Regions from separate parts of the Homo sapiens genome. Here regions 1 and 2 are each linked to region 3. Evidence: promoter capture Hi-C in 16 types of primary human blood cells and fetal thymus (Javierre and others, 2016). All regions are on one chromosome and are shown on one strand. Each heading gives the region's core, a stretch centred on a gene start or on the middle of the fragment in contact. The rest is flanking DNA. Distances are from core to core; before and after follow the strand shown. Region 1 has its middle 1.7 kb from the start of SLC18B1. Region 2 overlaps SLC18B1 (solute carrier family 18 member B1). Region 3 holds the start of TAAR6 (trace amine associated receptor 6).

Evidence for each region. Contacts are between HindIII fragments. The CHiCAGO score rates a contact against its expected background, and 5 or more counts as called.
Region 1: a contact is called between a fragment that was not itself captured here and the fragment with the promoter of TAAR6 in region 3, in 1 of 17 cell types (monocytes). The highest score is 6.4, in monocytes.
Region 2: a contact is called between a fragment that was not itself captured here and the fragment with the promoter of TAAR6 in region 3, in 1 of 17 cell types (M1 macrophages). The highest score is 7.2, in M1 macrophages.

The regions. Positions count from the first base shown.
Region 1 is chr6:132,798,956-132,801,655 of GRCh38, reverse strand. No RefSeq gene overlaps it. Among named protein-coding and RNA genes, the nearest start is that of SLC18B1, 1.7 kb to the right of the region's middle. The HindIII fragment of the contact is 2,853 bases long and covers 1-2,700 here.
Region 2 is chr6:132,770,142-132,772,841 of GRCh38, reverse strand. SLC18B1 (solute carrier family 18 member B1) reads left to right here. Exons shown (of 14, transcript NM_052831.3): 11 at 636-710; 12 at 1,713-1,806; 13 at 1,903-1,952; 14 at 2,506-2,700. The coding sequence ends at 2,572. Among named protein-coding and RNA genes, the nearest start is that of VNN2, 14 kb to the right of the region's middle. The HindIII fragment of the contact is 3,459 bases long and covers 1-2,700 here.
Region 3 is chr6:132,568,899-132,571,598 of GRCh38, reverse strand. It overlaps TAAR6 (trace amine associated receptor 6), which reads right to left and starts at 1,277. Exons shown (of 1, transcript NM_175067.1): 1 at 240-1,277. The coding sequence starts at 1,277. The coding sequence ends at 240. The HindIII fragment of the contact is 3,206 bases long and covers 1-2,700 here.

The DNA.
Region 1 (2,700 bases), core at 108-2,607, 230 kb before region 3:
TGGCTCAGTGAAACTGATGTTGAACTTCTGGCTTTGAGGACCTTGTTTTAAGCTATCAAATTTGTGTTGATTTGTACAGCAGCCCCAGAAAACTAACACAATAATATATTTGATTATAAAACTGATTATCTGAAGGGAGAATGAGAGGTAGAGATTACAAGAGGAGCGGAGGATAGGGATATGAATAGACTTTATGTAAATTAAAAGTAGATGGACACATAAGAACATAGATTTTTTTGAGAACATAAAGAACAAGATTTGCATTAAACATGCAAGAATTATTGCAAATGGGGAGAGGAATGAGAATGGAGATACAAGGAAATAGATGGCAACAGAAATGAAACATTCAATTGGCAAGATACAGTTGGCAAGATTCAGTTGGCAAAAATTCAGATGGCAAGATACAGTTAGGGATACTTCCTATAACATGGAGGAAAAAAAAAGAAAAAATAATAACTAGCCAGGTGTGGTGGCACAGGCCTATAGTCCCACCTACTCGGGAGGCTGAGGTGGGAGGATCAGTTGAGCTCAGGAATTTGAGGTTGCAGTGAGCCATTATATGTCATGGTAGCTTGGGAAACAGAGTGAGACCCTGTCTAAAAAAAATAAAATAAAATAAAAGAGAGAAGAAAAAGAGAAATAAGTAAAAGGACCAGTTTGGGTGACCCAACATTCACATAAAGTGCAGTCCAGAAAGAAAATAAAAGAGGAAATGTAATCATCAAAGAAATCATTCAAGAAAATTTCCCTCTACAGATTGATGTTAGATTGAAGAGAAAGCATAGAGTTAAATGAGATTGGAGAAGCTGTCAGGGGTTAGATCATAAAGATTTCATAAGGCTACTTTAGGGAAACTTTGCTAGATTGGAACTTTCTTTTCTTTTCTTTTTTTTTTTTTTTTTTTTTTTTTGAGATGGAGTTTCACTCTTGTTGCCCAGGCTGGAGCACAATGGTGCTGTCTTGGCTCACCACAACCTCTGCCTCCTAGGTTCAAGCGATTCTCCTGCCTCAGCTTCCCGAGTAGCTGGGACTACAGGCATGCGCCACCATGCCCAGCTAATTTTGTATTTTTAGTAGAGACAGGGTTTCTCCATGTTGGTCAGCCTGGTCTCAAACTCTCGACCTCAGGTGATTTGCCTGCCTCGGCCTCCCAAAGTGCTAGGATTACAGGCGTGAGCCACAGCACCTGGCTTAGAGTGGAACTTTCTGTTCAGAGTGGTTCTCTAGGTTCTCCTTTACAACTTGCCCACTGGGGAATTTTTTTTTTTTTTTTTTTGAGATGGAGTCTCGCTCGGTTGCCCAGGCTGGAGTGCAATGGCATGATCTCTGCTCACTGCAACCTCCGAGTCCCAGGTTCAAGCGATTCTCCTGCCTCAGTCTCCTGAGTAGCTGGGTGCCATCATGCCCAGCTAATTTTTGTATTTTTGTAGAGACGGGGTTTCACCGTGTTGGTCAGGCAGGTCTCGAACTTCTGACCTCGTGACCCGCCCACCTCGGCCTCCCAAAGTGCTGGGATTACAGGCGTGAGCCACCGCGCCCGGCCCTCACTGGGGAGTTTTTACATAACCTTCAAGAACCAAGGTAACATCACTTCCTCAGGAAGTCATCCAGGACCCATTTGCCAAAGTAAATGGTTCTTCCAATATGTTTGTATACAACCGATTGCATTATAGTAGATTATTAATTAGTGTGAATTTCATCTGCTAGAAGGTGTGCTACTTGAGGGCAGAGTCTGGATGGGGCTCATTCCTCTTTAAATTCATAATGCCTGGCACAAAGTGGTAACTCAGTCTTTTGTTTTGCTTTGGCTTCAAAACAAGAATTTCCCAGTCCTTAAACTTTATTTATTTATTTGAGACAGAGTTTCGCTTTTTCACCCAGGCTGGAATGAGGTGGCACAGTAATTACAAACTTACTATCAGCCATACTGTGTACTGGAACTGACCTTGTACAGTGGATCTGAGGCAGATTCTCAGTCGATAAAGCTACCCTCACACAATTCTTTTGGATCTTGGCTCACTGTAACCTCCGCCTCCCAGGTTCAAACGATTCTCCTGCCTCAGCCTCCCTAGTAGCTGGGATTACAGGTGCCTGCCACCACGCCTGGCTGATTTTTTTGTATTTTTATAGTAGAGACAGGGTTTCACCATGTTGGCCGGGCTGGTCTAGAACTCCTGACCTCAGGTGAGCTGCCCACCTCGGCCTCCCAAACTGCTGGGATTACAGGCATGAGCCACCGTGTCCAGCCAGTCCTCGAGCTTTAACACTTCCCAAATAGTAAATACGGTGAAAATAAGTGAAACCTATTTTTTATGCAAGAAAACTGTGAGTGTGAGAGTAAGGTAGCAGCCATCATGTTCATGTGCTAACTACTAACACACTTTATCGCCAATGCTCACAGCCGCCCTACGAGATAAACATTATAATCTCAGTTGTACAGGTAGAGAAACTGACCTTGTCATCCAAAGTTACACACTGCCAGCAAGTGCCCTGGCTTGAATCCCTGGCACCTGCCTCCAGAGGTCGCACTCCTAGCCACTTCGCCATGCTTCCTCGATATTCATTAGTATTCTTGCAAATATTTTTCGACTCCAGGTGCTTCACATAGGTTAATTCATTTCCGGTTCAATAGTGTCTGGCTTCAGTAATTACGAACACTACCGCATTTACCCACTGTGAAAAATAATTCACTCTTTCAAA
Region 2 (2,700 bases), core at 170-2,669, 200 kb before region 3:
ATAGTAATAATACACTAATAGAAATGATAATAGTACATTAATAGCTAAAATGGGTTGTGGACAGATGTCTGGCTTGGTTTATGCCTCAGTATGTAAGTAATTTTGAAAAGCTAAAGCAAAATAGATAGGTCTCAGCATTGTTCCTCTTTCATGGAGGAGGTCCATGAGAGAGCCTAGAGTGACCAGCATCTGTCACCTGGTCATCATTCTTTTGTTTAATAGGCATGATGATGAAGAACACTAAGTACTATGGCTGTGCTGGGTCAGTTCAATAGTTCTCATGGGAATAAGGAACTATCTCTGTTTTTTAAAAGTTGCCTTTGTTCTCTTTCCATCTTCATCTCATTTTAAGAATTTCTTAATTATATATTTTTATAAGTATTTAATGCAAATGAGCCATGCTTCTTAATATCATATATATATGCAGAAAAATTATTTCTAGAAAACCATGGAGTAAATGTAACTATGAAAATTCTTTTAAATAAGATTTGCTTTTTATCTTAGAAGCAGAGTATTCTTGCTGTTGGTTTTTTTCCAGATTATCCTTGGTTTATCTTAATTGATCTATCATACAATTTTTTCTTTCACACAGGTTTTCCTTTTAATAATGGATACACTCATGTCTCTTTTTGCAGTGAAAATGGGTTTGAAGAGGGATTAAGTACATTGGGACTTGTATCAGGTCTTTTTAGTGCAATGTGGTCAATTGGGTGAGTAGTCATTTAATTTCTTTCTTTTTTTTTTTTTTTGAGATGGAGTTTCACTCTCATCACCCAGGCTGGAGTGCAATGGTGCGATCTTGGCTCACTGCAACCTCCGCCTCCCAGGTCCAAGAGATTCTTCTATCTCAGCCTCCTGAGTAGCTGAGATTACAGGTGCCCACCACCACATCTGGCTAATTTTTGTATTTTTAGTAGAGACAGGGTTTCACCGTGTTGGCCAGGCTGGTCTTGAACTCCTGACCTCAGGTGATCTGCCCGCCTTGGCCTCCCAAAGTGCTGGGATTACAGGCATGAGCCACTGTGCCCAGCCTCATTTAATTTCATTCATACTTGCAAGATGGAAAATATTAATACTATCCCTGCTTGATGTTGATGAAGAAATTGAAACACTGAGGGATCAGATGAGTTTCTCAAAGACAAACAGTTCATCTAGGGGAAAGCCAGAGTTCTAATCCATACCCTTTCACTCAACAATCAATGCCTATACCAACAGTTTAATACTTAGTCAAAATGGTTTCATATACTTTATCTTATTTGAGTGGTATTTATAAGTTCCTTTAATAGAAACATGTCTCTGATTTTTACAATTTATTCATTTATTCATTCATTTGTTTATTTTTTACCTTCTACCAGAAGGGTAACTATGCTAACAATGTAATATATTGTTTTGAATTGAGTTATATTAGTTGCAAATACTGAGAATAGAATAATATAAAGAATTTTTTAAATCTGTTTCATATTTTTTATTTTTATATAAGCCATCAACTTTTCAGAAGCAGTAATAATTTCAAAATTGTTAAAAAATTTTGAATGTCATTATCAGGTAGAATTATTTTCTTTTACTGAATGCTGTGCCCAGGAATTAGCTTTATCTTTAGTACTTATCTTCCAATGTAATGAAGACTTACAATTGAAGGATCATGTAGCTTTTCATGAAGTAATTATTTATTTTTTGCACTATTGAATACTTTTTCTTCTTTCTATTGTTAGTGCTTTTATGGGACCAACGCTGGGTGGATTTCTGTATGAGAAAATTGGTTTTGAATGGGCAGCAGCTATACAAGGTCTATGGGCTCTGATAAGTGTGAGTAATCAGTCTTTTATTTGCATTTTCCTTATATTTGTGGAAAAACTTGACTTGGAAAATTTACATTAATCAGTACTTTTAATTGTGTTTAAGGGATTAGCCATGGGCTTGTTTTATCTACTGGAGTATTCAAGGAGAAAAAGGTATGGTCAATTTTGGGGCTTTTTTTCTCTCTTTAAAAGTTAGCCAGTGCAAGTGGAAAATAAATAACATTTTACATTTATTCTTCCAGTCAGTGGATTTCTAAGCACTCTGAGGCTCATCAGTTGGTAGATACTTTTTTAATTTTTATTTTTTGAGATGGTGTCTTGCTCTGTCACCCAGACTGGCATGCAGTGGCACAATCTCAGCTCACTGCAACTTCTGCCCCCCGGGTTCAAGCGGTTTTCCTGCCTCAGCCTCCCACGTAGCTGAGATTACAGGCATGGGTCACCATGCCCAGTTAATTTTTGTATTTTTAGTAGAGACAGGGTTTCACCATGTTGGCCAGGCTGGTCTCGAACTCCTGACCTCAAGTGATCCGCCTGCCTCTGCCTCCCAAAATGCTGGGATTACAGGCGTGAGCCACCATGCCCGGGCAGTAGAAACTTTTTTAAAAAGATAGTTGGATGGAGATACAGGTACTGGTTTTTTGTTTGTTTGTTTGTTTTTAAGATGAGAAATATTGAGATTCATCTCTTCTTTCCCTCAATGTAGGTCTAAATCTCAAAACATCCTCAGCACAGAGGAGGAACGAACTACTCTCTTGCCTAATGAAACCTAGTCCGATGGATCCTGGATTGATACAAGGTTGAGAAATGAATGCTCCTGGCCTTAAACATCACCGTAGGAAGGGTTTTTAAAATTTTACGCGCAAAACTCCGTGGACCCCGTGCCAGTGTCTTGGAAGTG
Region 3 (2,700 bases), core at 28-2,527:
AGTGGGATATGCTGAGCTCTAAAGCAGTTAACAAATAGGAATTTAACATTTGTTAGCCAAGTAAATACTTTTGCAGAAGGGACAGGAAAGTGCACATCTTAACAAGACTGAAAAACATTGATTTGTTTTTCATTTGAAGAGCAATTTATTTGCTATTCATTCATAGTCTTACTTGATTTTTAAAAACTCATTTCGCTTGGTAATTTTAAAGGTATCCTGAACTTCGTCTATACAACTGCTTATATATGTTCAGAAAACAAATTCATGGTTGCTGAACTGTTCTTTAAAACCTGACCAGTTACAATAACTTTTATTGCTTTCCTAAACCATGGGTAAAATAAAGCATAAATCAAAGGATTCATGGCTGAGTTATAATAAGCACACCAACAGCAAATCTCATAAATACAGGCAGGGGTTATAAAGCCCATAAAGGCATCAATTAATGAATCAATGCTATATGGTAACCATGAAATCATAAATGCTACCACTGTGACCCCCAGGGTTTTAGCTGCTTTTCTCTCTCTCCTGGCCACTCTGGCTTTGTAACTCTCTGAGGATGATTCTGTCTTGCTACCAGTATTTTCTATCTTTTTCGCCTGTCGTCTAGCCACAAGAAATATGTTACCATACAGAATTATCATAATAAAGGTAGGTATAAAGAAGGATAGAAAATCTGTCAACACCCAGTTTTGATTTACAACGGTCTGACAACCTCCTATACAGTTTAGGGCATCAGATAATTCCTCCAGCCCATCGTCATAGACACCTGTGTAGAACACAGCACCGCTGTACATGAGGGGCAGGATCCAGGACACGCTGATGCAAATTCCTGACACAGATACGGTGAACTTGGTAGGATAGACCAGGGGGTCAGTAACCGCAATGTACCTGTCGATGGAGATGAAGCACAAGTGAAAGAGAGAAGAGTAACAAAATGCCACATCACAGCAGGTGTGGAAAGTACAAAAACTCCTCCCAAAATACCAGCAGCTCTCCACCGTCCTGACCATGCTGAAGGGCATCACAGTCACACCCACCAAGAAATCAGCGCAGGCCAGAGAGGCAACGAGAAAATTGGTCGGAGAGTGCAGCTGCTTGAAATGGAGGATTGAAATCATCACCAGGAGGTTTCCAAACACAGCCAGCACAGCCCCAAAGCCAAACACTATGTACAGAATCACCCGGGATCCCGGCGAGAAGGGGATTTTCACACAGGACCCATTCACGTTCGCGTAGCACAGCTGCACAGCCACCAGCAGGGATGAATTGCTGCTCATAACGCTGTTATTTACATATGGAGAAGTTTTGTCCTTGTTGATTATCACAAAAAATACAGGATTGTTCCTGATTTTCAGTGCTCCTGCGGAAAAAAACACATATTCACCAGGATGCCAGAGGAAATGATCAGATATTATCTCTAATATAATTTTTCAAGTTTCCATTTTTATTATAAATCCCAAATGTTTATGACAAAATAAAATTTGACAAAAATTATATTGCACAAGATTATTGGAGATTGTTTCAACTGATAAATGTCTCATGCTCTTAATTTGATAAAATTCCTTTTGATTTTAAATATCCTTTCATATTTTATTTTTACCTTTTGAGTTTCTCTGTGCAACAGTCGCTGATATGGAATGTAATTATGGAGCTGAAAGATCACCTCCTGTTATCTTTATCTCTGTTATCTGTCCTGCATTACCGCCTTAAAGATGAAGTCCTTTTAGCTAAATAAATGCCTTCAATGGGAAAATCCCTCGATGGAATCCCTGTAGTGCGCGGTGTGAACTAGTATGATTATTTTCAACAGTGATTACTAGGAAAGTTATTCTACAAAACAGGTCTCTACTCTATATTAAATTCTATTATCATTATTGTTTTAGGCCAAAGATTTGTTTTTCCTTAGTGCATAGACTTGAACCATTCCCTTGTTCCCAATCATAACTTAGCCACCCGGGTTTTTGTTACAAAGATACAATAGGGTGTAAATAGTAAGCATCAATACTTGGCTCTTTCTCTTCTGTTAAGAATCAATTTTCCATCTGCATTGGTTACCAACAAGCAGAAATTATTATAATACATAGTGAGGGGAACTTGAGATTGATAAAATATATTGCATGAAAGCATTAAAGAACGACATGCTGTTTAGACACACCGGCATTTCTGAGATGCTGGTGGAAAGACCAGTCCTCTTCTCAAGACATTGTTACTGGGAACACATCTGCAATGTGTCTGCATCCACATGACAAATGGGCAGTGAGCCCTCTCTCTCTGACTACGCATTTGTTTGCAATTCCTGGTGACTGGCCTTTGTGCTCCCGATGCTAAAAGCAGTCAAAAAAATAAGAATAATGAACAGGAAACTGGAAAATGGGAAGAGAATCCTCAGTAATGTTCCCAACCCTGGAATGTAAAGACACTGCAGAGTGAAGAAAATATTGTTATTATTATATTATTGTCTTCCTGAAGAAGGGTTCAACTCTCTTTCCAGTACAGGGCTGTGACTTTAGAGACATTTGTGAACTTGCTTTTCAAGTTATAAAGAGTGATAAGTATTATTATTAATCAATCTCGCTATCTGATTCCTACTCAATAAAATTAACACTCTTAACCAAGTAGTTTTCAGATGCTTCTTAATATTTTCTGTATGTCTGATTTTGTGAAATGGTGTCAATTTCTTATATAGACAAAACCCCGTGC